3 separate regions of the Homo sapiens genome follow, and regions 1 and 3 are each linked to region 2. Evidence: promoter capture Hi-C in 16 types of primary human blood cells and fetal thymus (Javierre and others, 2016). All regions are on one chromosome and are shown on one strand. Each heading gives the region's core, a stretch centred on a gene start or on the middle of the fragment in contact. The rest is flanking DNA. Distances are from core to core; before and after follow the strand shown.

The links. The method cuts DNA at HindIII sites, captures the fragments that hold promoters and counts their contacts. A CHiCAGO score of 5 or more calls a contact.
Region 1: a fragment that was not itself captured here is called in contact with the fragment with the promoter of S100G in region 2 in 1 of 17 cell types (naive CD4 T cells); the score reaches 5.6 in naive CD4 T cells.
Region 3: a contact is called between the fragment with the promoter of MAGEB17 here and the fragment with the promoter of S100G in region 2, in 2 of 17 cell types (non-activated CD4 T cells and naive CD8 T cells). The highest score is 5.4, in non-activated CD4 T cells.

What each region holds. Positions count from the first base shown.
Region 1 is chrX:16,139,264-16,141,963 of GRCh38, forward strand. The region is part of intron 1 of GRPR (gastrin releasing peptide receptor); the gene reads left to right. Among named protein-coding and RNA genes, the nearest start is that of GRPR, 17 kb to the left of the region's middle. The HindIII fragment of the contact is 1,484 bases long and covers 622-2,105 here.
Region 2 is chrX:16,648,864-16,651,563 of GRCh38, forward strand. It overlaps S100G (S100 calcium binding protein G), which reads left to right and starts at 1,295. Exons shown (of 3, transcript NM_004057.3): 1 at 1,295-1,340; 2 at 2,136-2,278. The coding sequence starts at 2,144. The region is part of intron 13 of CTPS2 (CTP synthase 2); the gene reads right to left. The HindIII fragment of the contact is 12,685 bases long and covers 1,090-2,700 here.
Region 3 is chrX:16,166,096-16,168,795 of GRCh38, forward strand. It overlaps MAGEB17 (MAGE family member B17), which reads left to right and starts at 1,386. Exons shown (of 2, transcript NM_001277307.2): 1 at 1,386-1,688. It overlaps MAGEB17-AS1 (MAGEB17 antisense RNA 1), which reads right to left and starts at 2,584. Exons shown (of 5, transcript NR_187144.1): 1 at 1,112-2,584. RefSeq lists an enhancer at 2,121-2,700. The HindIII fragment of the contact is 6,177 bases long and covers 1-2,700 here.

The sequences.
Region 1 (2,700 bases), core at 114-2,613, 510 kb before region 2:
TAGGGGAGCCAAGAGGTTGTCGTAGAAGTTGACTTTCTAGTGGACTCGCTTTCCTTTTCAGGAAATACAATAATAACCTTTTATTTAAATCCAACTTTTCCAACCCGCAGCCTGCGGACCACCTGCGGCCCGGGATGGCTTTGAATACGGCCCAACACAAATCCATAAACTTTCTTAAAACATGAGATTTTTTTGAGATTTTTTTTTTTTTTACTTGTCAGCTATCGTTAGTGTATTTTATGTGTAGCCCAAGACAATTCTTCTTCTTCCAGTGTGGCCCAGGGAAGCTAAAAGATTGGGCACCCCTGATTTAAATAATGCTGTTTTTCAAAGTGCGTTTGAAAAATTTAGCTCATTTAAATCCTCATCATACTAAGTAAGATTGGTATCTTTAGCTCTGTTTCACAGATGAAGAAAATGGAGGCATCAAAATCTTGCAGTTTAAAGTATGGACTCAGACGCTAGATGGTCTCTGTTTAAACCCCAGCTCTTCCACTTGCTAGCTGTATGACCGTGAACAAGTTACTTAACCTCTCAGTGCCTTCGTTTCTTCATGTGTTAAGAAAAAGATGACAATAGTAATACCTATCTTCTAGTATTGTTATGTAGGGGCAGAGGGAAAGCTTCCTCTAATTCTTGAAAAGTGTCGAGAACTTTGTGCTAGGCACACAGTGAGTACTATGTAAGTTTTTGTTAAATAACAAAAAATAAAAAGAAACGGAGACAACATGCTTTCACAAAAACAGTTAATCATAGAAGTGGGACTAGAGTGCAGGGTTCCCAGTCTTCATCCAGTCCCTCTCTCCCCGTCTTGGACCTCTGCACCATATGGTGATGCCTCACCAGCACTGCCAGGATCAACCTCCTGGGCCAGTGGTCCCAGTAAGCTACAAAGTTGGGTCACCATTTCACCATTTATAAAACCTTTCCCAAACATTTATTTAAATCTAGTGCTGTTAAATTTTTATAATTAGACACAGTGACTCATATGCCATGATGGTATTTTTGAGCTGTAATGATTCTTATTTTGGAAAAAAATGATAATGTATTTTATTATGATAATTTAGAAGTTCCATTTTTATCCTTAATGATTTGAAATATATTTAAAAACTGAAAATTATCTGTGATATTTCATTTTCTATATATGTGTTTGATAAACTGACCGGATCAGGAGAAAAAATGTACATAGTGAGGGTGTCCATATCCCCTGGCACAACTCAGAGGTCACTTAGAGGGCTGGGCTTCCTGTGTTTCTCTGACCAAGGGTGATCTCTGGCCAAGGAAAGGTTTGGGGTAGGCTGAAGTGCCCCAGAATTACCACCAACAGACAATTGTCAACCAGAGATGAGAGTTGGTGGGTAAACACCCCACCCACCTCATCCTTTGGTGGCACAGTTCTGGAACGTGTTAACTGTGGTTTCTCAGGGGATTCCCAGCAAGAATGTGCCCCAGTTGCCCACCGTGGTGCCCTTTACTGGCTTTTTCTACCTCCCTGTGCTTCCTGGCATCTTCTTCCAAATAAATTACTTGCACCTAAATCCTTGCCTCGGGGTCTGTTTGGAGGTGAACGACAATTTACAAAGGCAATTTATGACCCTGAATCTATTATCCCTTCCACCTAGAGCACGGTTAATTTTTCTTTGTCTTCGTGATTTGTTTTTTTCCCCCGTTCTCTGTGTATCTTCTTTGCTACGCAGTAAAGTAATTGCAGGCTGTGTCTAACTACAATTTGCAAATGGGATTTTGAAATGTTTTTCAAACATTTTGGCTCATAAAATTTTAACAAGTTATAAATACATGTTCTTCCTCCATAACATTTTTGAGGAATGAACAATGTGTGCCAGGATGTTTGAACACCTACTGAAATTAAATGGATTACTACTTTCCTTTGTCATTTCAAACATATCCACTGGTAACTGTAATATTTCATCCTGCATATACCTTTCTGATGGGCTCCCTTACAGGATTAGCATTGAGCTTTGAAATTGGATCACTCTGCTGAAACTCATTTTTGGCCCAAGGGTCAATAGTTGCCCAACTCCTTATGAGAAAGTGCCATAAGATGTCCAACAACTAATTGCATCTCTCTTTCCATTTTATCCCTAAGCTTCTACATCCCTCATATCCCAGGATCAGTACCTTCTCAATGTCAGTAGCTCTTTCTCTAGCCTTGTTCCAGCCTCTGGTTTCTAGTCCTTCACTGGTGCCATTTTTCACCTTGGCTCTAAGGTCAAAGTCTCACTCAGATGACCACTGCTGGCCCTGAGGCCTCTGAATATTTTAAGGAGCCCAGACACTGCTCTAGGCCTCAGGCCATAGGGAACTGCAAGGCGTGTATATGGGGGTGAAGAGAACCTTTGAAACCTTAGCCAAGTTTTCTGGAAAGTGTCTTCTGGGACAATGAACCCCAAAGTGAACTTCACATGCTCCCGGAGAGGTGTGGCCTGATCTGAGAGATAAGGGAGGAAAGTACCAAAGCCTCTATTTATATTGATTTTTATTTTAATAGAAGGATGAATTAAACATGAGTAATATGTAGTATCCAAACTGAGGCTCACCCACATCAGAGGATTCCTTATCACATGTGGCTCAGGCAGCAGGAGTGAGTGGCCCACTATCTAGAAGGCTCAAATAGGACACCCTTACTCTTCTTTGCACTTTTAGCTTAAGGGAAGGCATCGCCAAGTGATGCTTGTTGTG
Region 2 (2,700 bases), core at 45-2,544:
AGCTGAGAAACATCAGGGAGAAATACAGTCCCAATAGTCCAGTCCTCAGTTTGTAGGTGATATAAGGCAGAGTCAGGGAAAATTCTATAAGTGTGGAAGTGTACAAGTGTTTCAAAGCTGTAAAGTGCTCTTAAAATCCACCTGGAACCCCTTCCTGTGAGTTACAATCAGCATTAGATCAATGTCCCTTGGAAATGTCCTACTTATTTCATGGAACTCTTTCCAGTAGAAATCAATCTCCTTGGCAATTTTAAATCATGGCAGTTACAAAAAGTTTGAAGTATTTCCAACTGAACAAGAGTAAGTCGAGTGTTCTCACAAGTTTTTCGAATGATCACGAAATATATTTGGTAAGGAAAAGGATAATGAGAAATAAAAAGCAGACACAGGACCAACAAATAATGAAAGAGCTGAAAAAATGACCATGTTACTCAATATTGATTTGCCAAATAAAACCACAAATTACTGAGTATCTTCTTTCCACTTCTTAAACCTGCTTCTGAAGCAATACTTCCATTCATTCATTCATGTATTCAAATATTTAAGCTGCTAATATGTAAAGACATCAGAAGGACTTCAATGGCCATACCGTAATTTTTTAAACTATGTAATATTGTCCTTCTATGACAGCATTTTTTCTTTTTTACAGACAGGATCTCACTCTGTCACCCAGGCTGGAGTGCAGTGGCACAATCATGGCTCACTGTTGCCTCAACCTCCCAGGCTTAAGGAATCCTCCCACCTCAGCCTCTACAGTAGCTGGGACTACAGGCATGTACCATCACACCTGGCTGATTTTTTAAATTTTTCAGTAGAAATGTCTTGCTGTGTTGACCAGGCTGGTATCAAACTCCTCACCTCAAGCAATCCTCCTGCCTCGGCCTCCCAAAGTGCTGGGATTACAGGCATGAGCTACCGCACAGGGCAGCATTTATTTTTTCTGGATATGAAGAAAGTTATTTTTTAAAGCCTAAATATGCAACTAAATTGAAAAGAATCCTCTATATCTAAGCTTTATGAAATGTGAACTGTGAGCAAATATAATTCTACATTGGAGGGAAAATATAATCTCAGGGGGAAAAAAATCCAAGCTTACGACTCTGAACCATGAAGCAACTGTCGAGATGGACCTTTACTGGATCTTGCCCTTAATTATGGGGTTCATGCAGTCTTAAGCCTGAGTTTCAAAAACCATTAATAATTACCCTTAAATGGCCAACAAAAGGAAATTTTCATAATCAGGGTGGCGTGCCCGTAAAGACTATAAAAGTGTCATGATTCTGCTCAGCTCTTCAAACTCCTCTTTGATTCTTCTAGCTGTTTCACTATTGGGCAACCAGGTTAGTGTGATTTTGGTACTACCTAGAGCTCCTTCTGTTTGCATTAATACTCTGCTTCCTTTTAGAATGGTGTGAAAGATAATGGTCTGGAGAGAAGGTGAGTTTATGCCATCTGGAGATATTCCCTGTAACTTAGAAGCTAGAAGCTGTGGTCAAGTATTCTTCAAGACCACAGCCTGCAGAGTGCAGATCAGGTACATAAAAAGTGTAGAATGTCATTAATTACTAATAAAAATGTTTGGCTCCAGGGACCATCTCCTAACAGATGTACTCTAAGAACAGACATTTAACATACTATCTAAGATGTCTTTTTTTTTTTTTTTTTTTTTTTGCAGCGGAGGCTCGCTCTGTCACCCAGGCTGGAGTGCAGTGGCATCGCACTCACTGCAACCTCCGCCTCCCGGGTTCAAGCGATTCTCCTGCCTCGGTCTTCCAAGTAGATGGGACTATAGGCACGCACCACCACGCCTGGCTAATTTTTGTATAGAGACAGGGTCTCACCATGTTGGCCAGGCTTCCATGGTCTCGAACTCCTGACTTCAAGTGATCCACCCTCCTTGGCCTCCCAAAGTGCTGGGATTACAGGCATGAGCTACCGTGCCTGGCCTAAGATGCTTATTTTTTAAACATGTTAGTAGTTACTGGTGCCATTCCGACCCCGACATTCTCTTTTCCTTATTCTTCCCCATTTATGCCAAGGAAATGGCCCAATGGCACTAAAATCCTGCAGACAACCCTCAGCACAAAACTGTACTTCAGCTTTTTGGTAAGTTTATTTTCTTCCCAATTTATAAGACACCAGAATGAGTACTAAAAAGTCTCCTGAGGAACTGAAGAGGATTTTTGAAAAATATGCAGCCAAAGAAGGTGATCCAGACCAGTTGTCAAAGGATGAACTGAAGCTATTGATTCAGGCTGAATTCCCCAGTTTACTCAAAGTAAGTGGCCATCCGCAGAGCCCACTTAATGGGACTGATGGTGGGAGGGGAGGGAGGGAGGGGAGAGGACTCCGGTAGAGCCTTATAGGGACCGTCGCTTGAGGGAGGACACATGCAGGTGGGGTTTCTTCCCCTTAAGTCAGGCCACATTTCAGAAGGCAAGCTCTCAGAAAACAAGGGCCAAGCCTTCTATCCCTCCTGCAGCCTCAGCACAGGACTCTGCAGGACTAGCCATAATAAATGGAAGCAATGCCAAGTTATGCCTGGAAGACCCACAAGTCACCAAGCAAACCCAATAAGGCCTTCAGCATGGATTCAGTACTTCTGTGCCAGGCTTTAGGAAAACAAAGAGGACTGCAAAATAGTGTTAGCTGGCCTTGGACAGGCTTCATTTGTGTATGTAAAATCCCTCAACAAGACCA
Region 3 (2,700 bases), core at 136-2,635, 480 kb before region 2:
ATCTTAATTCACTTTTCTTCTCCCTACTCCAAATTGTATATCAAGTAATAAGAAGAAAAATACCGTGTACAAACTACTGGTTTGGAATACATAGCCAGAGCAATAAGAATACAAAAATAAATGAGAGCTATGAATAAGGAAAAGAAAGAGACAATACTCAGTGACCACATGATCATCTACATATGTGATGTCAGATCACCTGAAAAGATTGGGGACTCACAGAATCATGTGGCCCTACCCTTCCTTGGAGAAAGCCAATCTATTAGAACCAAAGTTACAGCAGAGGCAAAGTCTGGCTGGTAAAGAAATGGAATAGACCAACTGGCTTTATTTTGACCACCCACCACTTGTCCTGGGCCCCCTGCCTTGAGCTACAACTTCCTGATCTCTCATCACTTCAGGGCAAGGAGCCATTCTCTGCAAAGTTTGCGGAAGAAAAACTGTTAAAGAGATTGCAGGGATTTGGCATTTCCCAGGAAGCCTTGAATTAATGAGACAGGAACCAAGATGTGAAGCCCCATGTAGGAGGACTGAGGATACCGTCATCCCAGAATATTGGAGGTCCAACAGAGACCAGCCTGTGGCTGCTCTCAGACTTAGAGGGCCACAGGCAGGGCTGAGGCTGAGCATCTCCACAATTATCCTTCAAGGTTCTCAGGAGCATGAGAGATTTCAGGAAGACAAACTCAGGTCAGTAGAGGAAGGACTGTGAGCTTCTGATAGATACCAAGGTGATGACCCTGAATTAAGAATAAAGGAAGGAACAAGCCAGAACAGTGGGGTCCCATAGAGTCCTGCCCTGGCTGACAGCCCTTGTCGTTCTGGAATAGTCATTGGTAGATTTGGCTCATCCTGATTACAACTCTGTAGTCCCAGGAAGGTGAAGACCTTGATCAGAGGGGAGCAGCCTCAAGTCCCATGAGGATCGAGTTCCAGGACTAGTCAGTCAGGTGTCAAGGTGAGGAATTTCAGGGAGCAATTAGAAAACCACACATCCATACTAGAACAGAGGAAGACACAAAAACTCTTACCTCCACCAACCCACATCTCCCCTTCCCTGCACCGCCGCTGCCACACCATCCCATCCCCACTCCTGTCACACCATCCTTACCTCTCCTGTGACTTGGGAAGCTCAGGAAGAGCTGTCAGGTTGAGGTGACTGTCATTTCGGCCTGGAGGGTCTCAGGGAAGGGAGAATCTTGGTCTGGTGGGGGAAGCCCCAGCTGTGCATAGTGGAGCCCCAGAAACTGACTCGAATCAAGGTGAGGACCGAGAGTGACATAAGGGAATGGTTATCAGCAAAAAATAAAAACAAAAATAAAAAAATGCTTAATCTTGTCAGCCATAGCAAAGACCTCAGCTGAGGACCCCTTTTTTTCTGCTTAGATGCTCTAACGAGGGTAGTGACTCTGTCTAAAGGCAAAAGCACAGTTCAGCTGAGGGAGGAGAACTGGACACTCATTGGAGTCCCGGAGAGGACACTGAGTACACTGGAGAGGACTTCTATGCAAAAAGGGGGCCCGAGCAGAGCCCCGCCCCGCTTTCAGCCCTGGGAGACCCAGCAGGGACTTGATTGGATGTGGCTCACTCCGACATCCGCCCGCCTGGGAAGCTGCCGGAAGTGAGGATCTTCGTCTGAGGGACGCCACCTCAGGCTACCAGAACCCCAAGACTGGTTGGGTATCAAGGTAAGGACCCTGATCGTGGACTGAAAGGCCCACCACACGCAGCCAAGGCGACCACCCTGTGTCCCCCAACCCCCGCCCCCGGGTACCCACCTCCCTCAGCCGCGGGAGGCTCCAGTCAGGCTGTGGCACTGACTTCTGAGAGGGCACCAGGGAGGGGAGGGTTTGGTGTGAGGGTGAGGCTTCGATTCTGCAGAGGGATGGACTCCTAGGCCCTAATCGAAATGAGGTCCCTGATGCTGATGAGGAGACCTCTCCCAAACATGGGAGGCCCACGAGGCGGGCATGGTAGCTCACACCTGTGATCCCAGTGCTTTGGGAGGCTGAGGCGGGAGGATTACCCGAGCCCAGCAGTTCCAGACCAGTCTGAGTAACAAAGCGAGACCCTCTCTCTCCAAGAAAGAAAAGAACAAAAACTAGCGGGACATGGTGGCCGGCGCCTGTGGCCCCAGCGACTCGGGAGGCTGAGGCAGGAGGATCGCTTGAGCCCAGCAGGTCGAAGCTGCAGTGAGCCATGGTCACGCCATGAGCGTGGCGACAGAGTGAGACCCCGTGTCTGTCACAAAGAAAAAAAAAAAAAAGGAAAAAGCAAGAGAGCCAGGGAGAGCCAGAGAGCCAGGTTTCTGCTGCCCTGTTGTCAGCTCTGGGAGACCCCGTGCAGGCATAGCCAGACGGGGCATGCCGTGACTTTTCCCTCTAGCAACTTTGGGACGTGAGAGCTTGGGCCTGGGCCTGGCTGACTCAGGTCAGTGGAGCGACCTGAGTCGCGTCCCAAAGAGTTGGAGGTCCCACCCTGAGCCAGGTTCAGAACCCTGAGGCAGAGCAGTGGGGTCCCCTATAGTCCCACCCCTGCTGTCACGCCTTGAAGGCCCTAAACAGCCTTGAGAGGATGTGGCTTACCCTGAATGTCCAAATCTGAGGTCCCATTGAAGCAAGGATCTTGCTTTGAAGGGTGTTGCCTGTAGTGAGCTGAGGATGGAGTCCCAGGACTGGTCAAGTAGCAAGGTGAAGATCC